Linked DNA regions of Homo sapiens: region 1 is linked to region 2. The links are contacts of gene promoters, found by promoter capture Hi-C in blood cells and fetal thymus (Javierre and others, 2016). All regions are on one chromosome and are shown on one strand. The core of a region is centred on a gene start or on the middle of the fragment in contact, and the rest is flanking DNA. Distances in the headings are between cores, read along the strand shown. Region 1 overlaps LOC105369329 (a long non-coding RNA gene). Region 2 holds the start of DAGLA (diacylglycerol lipase alpha).

Region 1 (4,147 bases), core at 689-3,188, 180 kb after region 2:
ATTATTTGCTTGAAGTCTGTTTCCGATGGACTAGGATGTGAGCTCCATGAAGACCAGATCAGAGGGCCAGGCGCGGTGGCTCACGCCTGTAATCCCAGCACTTTGGGAGGCCAAGGCGGGTGGATCATAAGGTCAGGAGTTCGAAACCAGCCTGGCCAACATGGTGAAACCCCGTCTCTACTAAAAATACAAAAATTAGTCAGCCTTGGTGGTGTGCACCTGTAATCCCAGCTACTCGGGAGGCTGAGGCAGGAGAATCGCTTGAACCCAGGAGGTGGAGGTTGCAGTGAGCTGAGATTGTGCCATTGCACTCCAGCCTGGGTGACAGAGTGAGACTCTGTCTCAAAAAAAAAGGAAAAAAAAAACAGATCAGTGCCAAGTGCCAGTGCTGTGTGGAGCCATTATTGGAACCTTCGAGCAAAGGAAAAATCAGTAACACGAATCTCATCTTCGTTTAAAATTTTGATTTTTTTTCATCATGGATTTTTGGCAATAATTTTTACTTTTACAATGATTGCATCAAACTATTACTTAATTATGGAGGTGGGTTTTTTTGGCACTTCTTTAAATATGGTGTCTAGAGCAAGTGCCTTGCCCCCCCTCACCCTAGTCTCAGCTCTGGATCGGGCAAAATCACCCTTTCTCAAAGGATTATCACAAAGCGTCAGTGACAGTGTATGGGAGCTGAATGCTGTCATTTTGAGATACTAACTTATTCCACTGTAGACAATTTCCTTATATCCATTGACTTGCATTCATATGCTAAGTTGGTTTCCTATATTCCCTGCTCTCCAGGGAAACTCAGAACAAAGAGTCAAATCCTTGGCTTTGAGTTGCAAAAGAGGCTTTGAAACCCAGAGCTGAGACTATACCCTTACAACAACCAGTTTTGAAAGAGAAATCTTTTGTGTAGGTCCAAAAAAGCTTGGCTTTGAACTTCGAGAGCAGAGAGCTGATGCCATAAGCCCTGGAGAGGGGAAGGATGCGTCATCGCAGAAGATAGCACCCAAAAGGAGATTAAGGTTCAACCGGCAGGTGGGAGAGAACGGGCAAGCAGCGCCCGGAAACACGGATGCCAGCCCAAAAACCAGTCGTCAGCCCCATCTGGGCAGAGCCTGGGGGTGGCATGAGAAAAAGTATATACCCCCAGGTATCCTGAGGGGGGCACCAGGGCAGGTGGGACCCACCTGCGCTTCCCTTACCAGGTGTGGCCTGAGGATGTAACAGGCCTCCCACAAGTCACTCTACCTGTATGGAGAGGCCTCAGTAGAGTAGACATAGAGGTGAACTCACAAGAGCAGGCATCCAGAAGTTTCCACACCTGCAAGACAGACATGGGTGTAGCCGAGAGATTAGGCTGGGGAAGTCCACATCTTTGCTAAATCCAGTTGTTACTGATAGACCAAGATACACTTTTTTTTTTTTTTTTTTTTTTGGTCACCCAGGCTAGAGAGCAATGGCGCAATCTCGGCTCACTGCAACCTCCACCTCCCGGCTTCAAGTATTCTCCTGCCTGGGCCTCCCAAGTAGCTAGGATTACAGGTGTGTGCCACCATGTCCGGCTAATTTTTGTATTTTTAGTAGAGACAGGGTTTTGCCATGTTGGCCAGGTTGGTCTCAAACTCCTGACCTTAGGTGATCCACCCGCCTCTGCCATCTGAAGTGCTGGGATTACAGGTGTGAGCCACCACGCCCGGCCCCAAGATACACTTTTGAGGTCTTGAGTATTGCTTATGAAGTCCATACTCACATATACCTGCTCTGTCTGGCTATACAAGTCATGCCATGTACAATGGAGCCGTATCTGATTCCTTTTGACACCAGGATCCTATACTGGAGGTAAGTATCTCGAGGAACAGCACTTTTGATCCATGTCCCATAAAGGGTCTTCGCAGGCCAACAGCAAACTCCCTAGGTGTGTAAAAGCACCGAGAGCACCCCGCTTACAGAAGGTACCCCACAAATGCCCTTCTTAGTGATGGTAACTCACGTGGGAAGGACATTTGATTTCTTTGGGCCTCCCAGCATCTGTAGCCCCTGGCTATGTTGGAGAATCCACCTGCCTTACAAAACAGAGCCCACTCTCCTCCCAAGGCAGCTGAAAACGCTGGGAGCTCACTTTCCCGGCATCCCTTGCAAGCGAGGTGGAAGCCTGTGACCCGGAAGTCGCCCCCAAGTACACCCACGTCAGATTCTGAATAGGAAATGAGAACTGCTGAGCAGAAGGGATCACTCAGATCCCTCCTGAGGGCGGTGTGAGGAGCGGCAGCAGGGGCTGTGTCCCAGGAGCAGCGGTGGGGAGGCCTGGGGTCTTTGTGGTCCCAGGGCCATGGGGCGATTTTCTTTGTGCTTCCTGGCTGGGTGGGCTCTAAGTTTTTTGGTTTTTTTTTTTCTTTTTCTTTTTTGAGATGGAGTTTTGCTCTTGTTGCCCAGGCTGGAGTGCAATGGCGCCATCTCGGCTCACCTCAACCTCCACCTCCTGGGTTCAAGCGATTCTCCTGCCTCAGCCTCCTGAGTAGCTGGGATTACAGGCGCCTGCTACCACGGACCCGGCTAATTTTTGTATTTTTAGTAGAGACGGGGTTTCTCCATGTTGGTCAGGCTGGCTCGGAGTCCTGATCTCAGGTGATCCGCCGGCCTCGGCCTTCCAAAGTGCTGGGAGTACAGGCGTGAGCCACCACGACCGGCCGGGCTCTAAGTTTTATTCTCAGGTCCACCTGAAGATTCTGTGAGTGACCAAGTCCTTTTAAGAAATTCCTTTTCTGCTTAAATTAGCCAGCTGTGGTTTTTGTTGCTTGTGATGAACTCTGACTGACAGCCTCCATCGTCAGACCTCATCAGCCTGTGACCACTCAGGGAGTCGCGTGATCATTCTCCCTCTGCCCCTGCTTGCACTGTCCTCCCAGAAGCCCCACACTGTCAAATGCTGTTCTGTGCTCAGGAGAAGCTTTGCCCATGTTCTTCAATGCCAGCCCACCGCCCCCAGTGCCAGAGCCCACCAGGAGAGCATGGCTCTGCGCCAAGGCCGTCTGACCGTAGGGACCACAACCTTGTCATCAGGCTCCATAGGAGGCTGCTTGGCCCAGGGGCTCATATAGCCTTTTCTGAGCACAGCGCCTTCAGCATCTCACCCAAGCTTAGGCCAGGTGAGCGACACACACACCTTCCTGCCCTGGCCCTTTAACTGGGGACTCTAAAGACACACACACACAGGCTCTCCAACCTGAATCACACTCTCACACTCATACACTCACACCCACACACATACACTCACACATATATACACTCACACACACTCATATTCACACTCATACACACTCATACACTCACTCTAACACACACACATTTACACCCAGATATACTCACACACATCTACACACACACATACACACATACACTCATACCCACACGCTCTAACACACACCCACACATCTACACACACACTCACATACACACACTAACACACTCATATACCCACACACGCAGACACACATACACAAATACACACAATCATCTTCACACACATACACACACTCATACACTCCCACTCCCACACACATACACTCACACTCACACTCACCTATATACACTCACACTCATATTCACACACATTCATATACGCACACTCTAACACACTCACACCCACACACACACATACACTCACACATATATACACACATATACTGTCTCATATTCACACTCATACACACTTATATACTCACACTAACGTATACTCACACCCACAAACACATTCACAAAATACACACGCATACACTCTCACACACTCATAATCACACACTCATACACTCATATCCCACACACTTAACACATACCCACACATATACACTTACACACATAGACACACGCATACCCACACTCATATACCCACACACACCCACACACACAGATACATACACACAAATACACACAAATCATCTTCGCACACATACATTTTCACATATACTCACACTCCAACACACACCCACACATACACATACACATACACATATACACTTACACACCGCACTTACATATACACTCATACATACAACTCTCACACTCACATTCACACACATATACTCACACTCTCAGGCACATACACTCACAGTTCCAAATTCACACTCATGCACTTACACTAATGCTCTCA
Region 2 (4,015 bases), core at 970-3,469:
CAGACCTACCCTGGCAATGAGGCACGTCTGCTGCCCAAGCAAAGTGCTTCCTCCTGCTTGGGCCACTCCTGCAGGACTTCACAGCTGCCGGGGCCATGCTCAGGACTGTCCTCTGGAGACCGGGGGCCTGGTTCCAGCTCAGCAGCTGACTCACAGTGTCAACAGATCCCACTTGCCCCCACCGGGAGCATGTGCGCTCAGGGCCTCTAATTCCCTATGACAGGCCCTCAACCTTCCGGCTCCCTTCCTCCCAATCACATCCCGTGCCACCATTTCCTATGGCTCCTGCCTCCAGCCCTGGTCTCTTTACTTGATGAGACTCTCTGACCTTTGTACAGTCTTTCGCTGTTTGCAAAGTGTTTCCACGTGCACCATTTCCTTTCATTCTTTACTACCAGACCACCATGTGACATGCCTTGATTGGTGAAGTCACCTGCTGAAGGTCACACAGCCAACACTGGAATTAAAGTGATATGGCTCCAAAGGCATCGGACAGTGCTCCGGTTATAGGGAACTCATCAGCATCTCCAAGCACCCACCTTGGCAATTTGGCGACCACCTGCCACCCTACCCTCAACATCATCTTTTTGGACTCATAAGTGCCTTCCCCAGCACAAGCTCAACCCTGTGATTCTTCTACCACTGATCCCACTCCCCCAAGAGATCCACAAAGAACTGAAGATTTCCCCTACACTGTAAGACTTCTCTAGGAGGAGCTGCAAATTGCTTCTCTGTAAAGTAAGGCACTAGGTGATGCTGAGTGAGACCTTCACCCAAAGCTTCCCAAAGGACTGGTGAGAGCAAACACAATCTCAGCGCAGATGGAGGGGTTTTAACATAGGAGCTAAGCAGAGAGGACAGACAGAGCCCTTGGAAAGGAATTTAAGCCTGGGGGTGGGAGTCCCGGTGGCCCCAGCAGATTCCCAGTGGCTGCAGAATCATCTTTCAAGCATACCCCAATCGATCCAATCCTCTGGACCCAAAGGCTCCCCAGCATCAAAGAAGAGAGGCAACTCCCAGATACCCTGGAGTGAACCCATCAACCCAGGGAGAAGGCAGGACCCCGTGACTACAGATAGATGGTGCGCCATACCACTCCCTCACTCGCTGACCCGGGTTACCTCTTGGTCCTGCTTGCTTCTCAGGACATATTCTGGGACACCGATCACCACTGAAAATCATCCACCCCTCCCTTCATTCCCAAAGCTAGATGAAAAGCTAGATGAATGGTTCTCTCTACCTTAGCCCAGGACAACGGTAGTGCCTGGAAGGTCTCTATCTGGGTTACCATCAGGGCCCTTGTGGTAGAAGCTTCTCCTGGCATCTCTTGTTTATGCCCATTATAAAGGACACCAACCTTCTCCCAGCCTTCTGCCCTCCTCAGTCCAGTGTACCCAACAGGCATTAAAACTGGACCCCCATGACAGAGGCAGTGTCCCCTTCATCGCCCGTGAGGAAGGATGGGCATTTACCCTTCCCATTCATCAGGATGGGAGGGCCACGGACTCCCCCCGCGGCAGTGCCGGGTAGCCCCCCGCACCACACCGTGCCAAGGCCCTTTCTCACAGTCATGCCAGGAACTCTAGCCATGCTGAGAACACCAATTCTTCAAGCCCCCAGTGCTATCACCCCAGATCATGTCAAGCCCAAGGCCAGAACCATCCCAACACCCAAGCAATGGCAGCACTTCCTCACACCCATGCTAGCGGCACCACCATGCCGGCACGAGCTGGCCACCTATCCCATAACCAGTCCGAAGGCCGTGCCCATCACCTACCTGTGCAGACAGCTGCACCACCTCACACCTGCGTGGCCACCACCGCACCAAGGTGGAGGCGAGTCTTCTGAGACCCGTTCCAGGAAAACCACGCCGCCTGTGCCGGACCCACGTTGCCCACGCCCGTGCCACGCGTGTCACCATCCCCACGCTGGTGCCAGGGGCTCCACAGACCTCACACCTGCCACGGGCGCGCGTGGCAGCTGCAACTCCGCCCGCCGACCCGTCGGGCCGGCCACCGCGCGCCCTGGACACTGCCCAGCCCGCCGCGCCGCTCGCACCGCGCCCGCGCCCAGGACCGGCCCGCCGCGCCGGAGGCCCCCCTTACCTCCCGCCCGCCGCAGGGCTCGGCCCGCCGCCGCGACCGCCACCTCCATCCTGGGCTCCCCAAGGCCCCGATTCACTAACGCCGCTTCCGCAGGGCGCCGGCGCCGGCGCGAAGGCCGCCTCCGCCCCCCGGGGGACGCTGCGTCCTTTACGTAAACCCCTCTCCGCCGCCAGCGGTGACCATGGCGACGGTCGTGGGGAGGCAGCGCCCCCTGGCGCCAGGGAGGGGAGCGGCGTCGAGGCCAGGGAGAGCCGAGTCTTCCGCGGGCGCCGGCCCTGCGCGTGGGGGCGGTGGGCGCCTGGCTCAGGCTCGGCTGGGGTCCCGTGGGCGGCCGGGAGGGGCTGGACTGGCCGCGATGCGTGCGGGGAAGGGAGCCGCCTGGGTGCCTGCCCCTCCTTTAGGTCCCTCGTGACCAGTTTTAGCGTGGGAGAGGGAAAAAAGGAAGTAGGATCACTGGAGAACTGGTTCATTTGTGGGGAGGAGAGAGACGGGTCCCACCTCCTCGGGGTGACTGAACTCTGCTTGAGAAGTCAGAGCATGGCTAGAGTTCCTGGCGTGACTGTGAGAAAGGGCCTTGGCACGGTGTGGTGCAGGGGTCTACCCGGCACTGCCGTGGGGGGAGTCCGTGGCCCTCCCATCCTGATGAATGGGAAGGGTAAATGCCCATCCTTCCCCACGGGCGACAGAGCCCGTGGGTACCCTGGGTACCCCCTCCTCCCTACCACCCCCCCACCCCCCACCCCTACCCCCGTTCCCAGTGCCCAGCATCGTGCCTGGTCTCCAAAGGGGTTTACTTGGTCAATTTTGAATTTCTGGTAAATGAAGAAAACCGCCCCTCCTGTTCCCCTTCACGCCCTTTCATTCACCGTAAGTCGCTTACACCTCCCTGGGAGCACTGTGCTGAACTGGGGGAGTGGAGCACAGAGAGGAGCAGAAGGCGGGCCCTGACTTCAAGGAGCTCATTCTGCTGGGGAGGAGACGCAGATGGAGGGGGTTTTAACACAGAAGCTAAGCCGAGAGGACAGACAGAGCCCTTGGAAAGGAATTTAAGCCTGGGGATGGGAGTCCAGTCTGCAGGTCGGGATGACTCAGCTGGGTCCCAAAGATCCAGTAAAGATTCATCAGAGACAAAAAGGGGAAGAACGTTTTCTTTCAGGCAAGAGAAGTGCCTCTAAAATGTTTCCTAGGCCCTGTTGCCACCCCCAAAATCACAGTGATCGCGCAGTTCAGTAGAAGTGGGAGCCATAGGTGAACAAGGAGGTGTGGGTAGTGGGGTGCCCGGCTTGAGCAGAAGCCTCGGTCTGAAAATTACGTGGACATTTGGGTTGGAAATGAGACTGTGAGGCCAGGACTGCCTTTTATTGAAGCAGATGGAGCCACTTCTGGAAGGAGTTCTGTGTTACCTGTGATTATTTAGAAAGCAAACTCACGTAGGTAACAAGGAAAATGAGGAGTGGGCGCATATACCCAGTGGGGCACCTCAGGGGATTCAAGGAGGAGTTGAATTCCTCAAGGCTCAGGAAGGGCAGAGATCAGGGGAGGCTTTAAGGGACAACTGTAGCAGTATCAGTTTAGGGATCTTCTTTCTAGATCATTGCCATTAATCAGAATCAAAACTGCCAGATTGGATGTCTCTTGGTTCAAAGTTCCCGATTCCCAGAAAAAAAGAATCTTATTAGTCCAGATCAGGCCACGGTCAATCAGCTATGGCCAGGGCAGAAAGTGCTTTGTGATACAAACATGTCAGTCCACTTTTCCCCGTTGAGAGACACTCCCAGAGGAGGAGAATCATGACCTGAACAGCCAGTCCAAAGACTGTCGGCCAGGGGCGGTGGCTCATGCCTGTAATCCCAGCACTTTGGGAGGCAGAGGCAGGTGGATCACCTGAGGTCAGGAGTTCGAGACCAGTC

What was found. Contacts are between HindIII fragments. The CHiCAGO score rates a contact against its expected background, and 5 or more counts as called.
Region 1: a fragment that was not itself captured here is called in contact with the fragment with the promoter of DAGLA in region 2 in 1 of 17 cell types (endothelial precursors); the score reaches 5.2 in endothelial precursors.

What each region holds. Positions count from the first base shown.
Region 1 is chr11:61,496,937-61,501,083 of GRCh38, reverse strand. It overlaps LOC105369329 (a long non-coding RNA gene), which reads right to left. Exons shown (of 3, transcript NR_188527.1): 2 at 1,249-1,321. Among named protein-coding and RNA genes, the nearest start is that of MIR4488, 9.6 kb to the left of the region's middle. RefSeq lists a silencer at 1,721-1,921. The HindIII fragment of the contact is 2,023 bases long and covers 927-2,949 here.
Region 2 is chr11:61,678,595-61,682,609 of GRCh38, reverse strand. It overlaps DAGLA (diacylglycerol lipase alpha), which reads right to left and starts at 2,219. Exons shown (of 20, transcript NM_006133.3): 1 at 2,106-2,219. RefSeq lists an enhancer at 1-22. The HindIII fragment of the contact is 3,213 bases long and covers 1,314-4,015 here.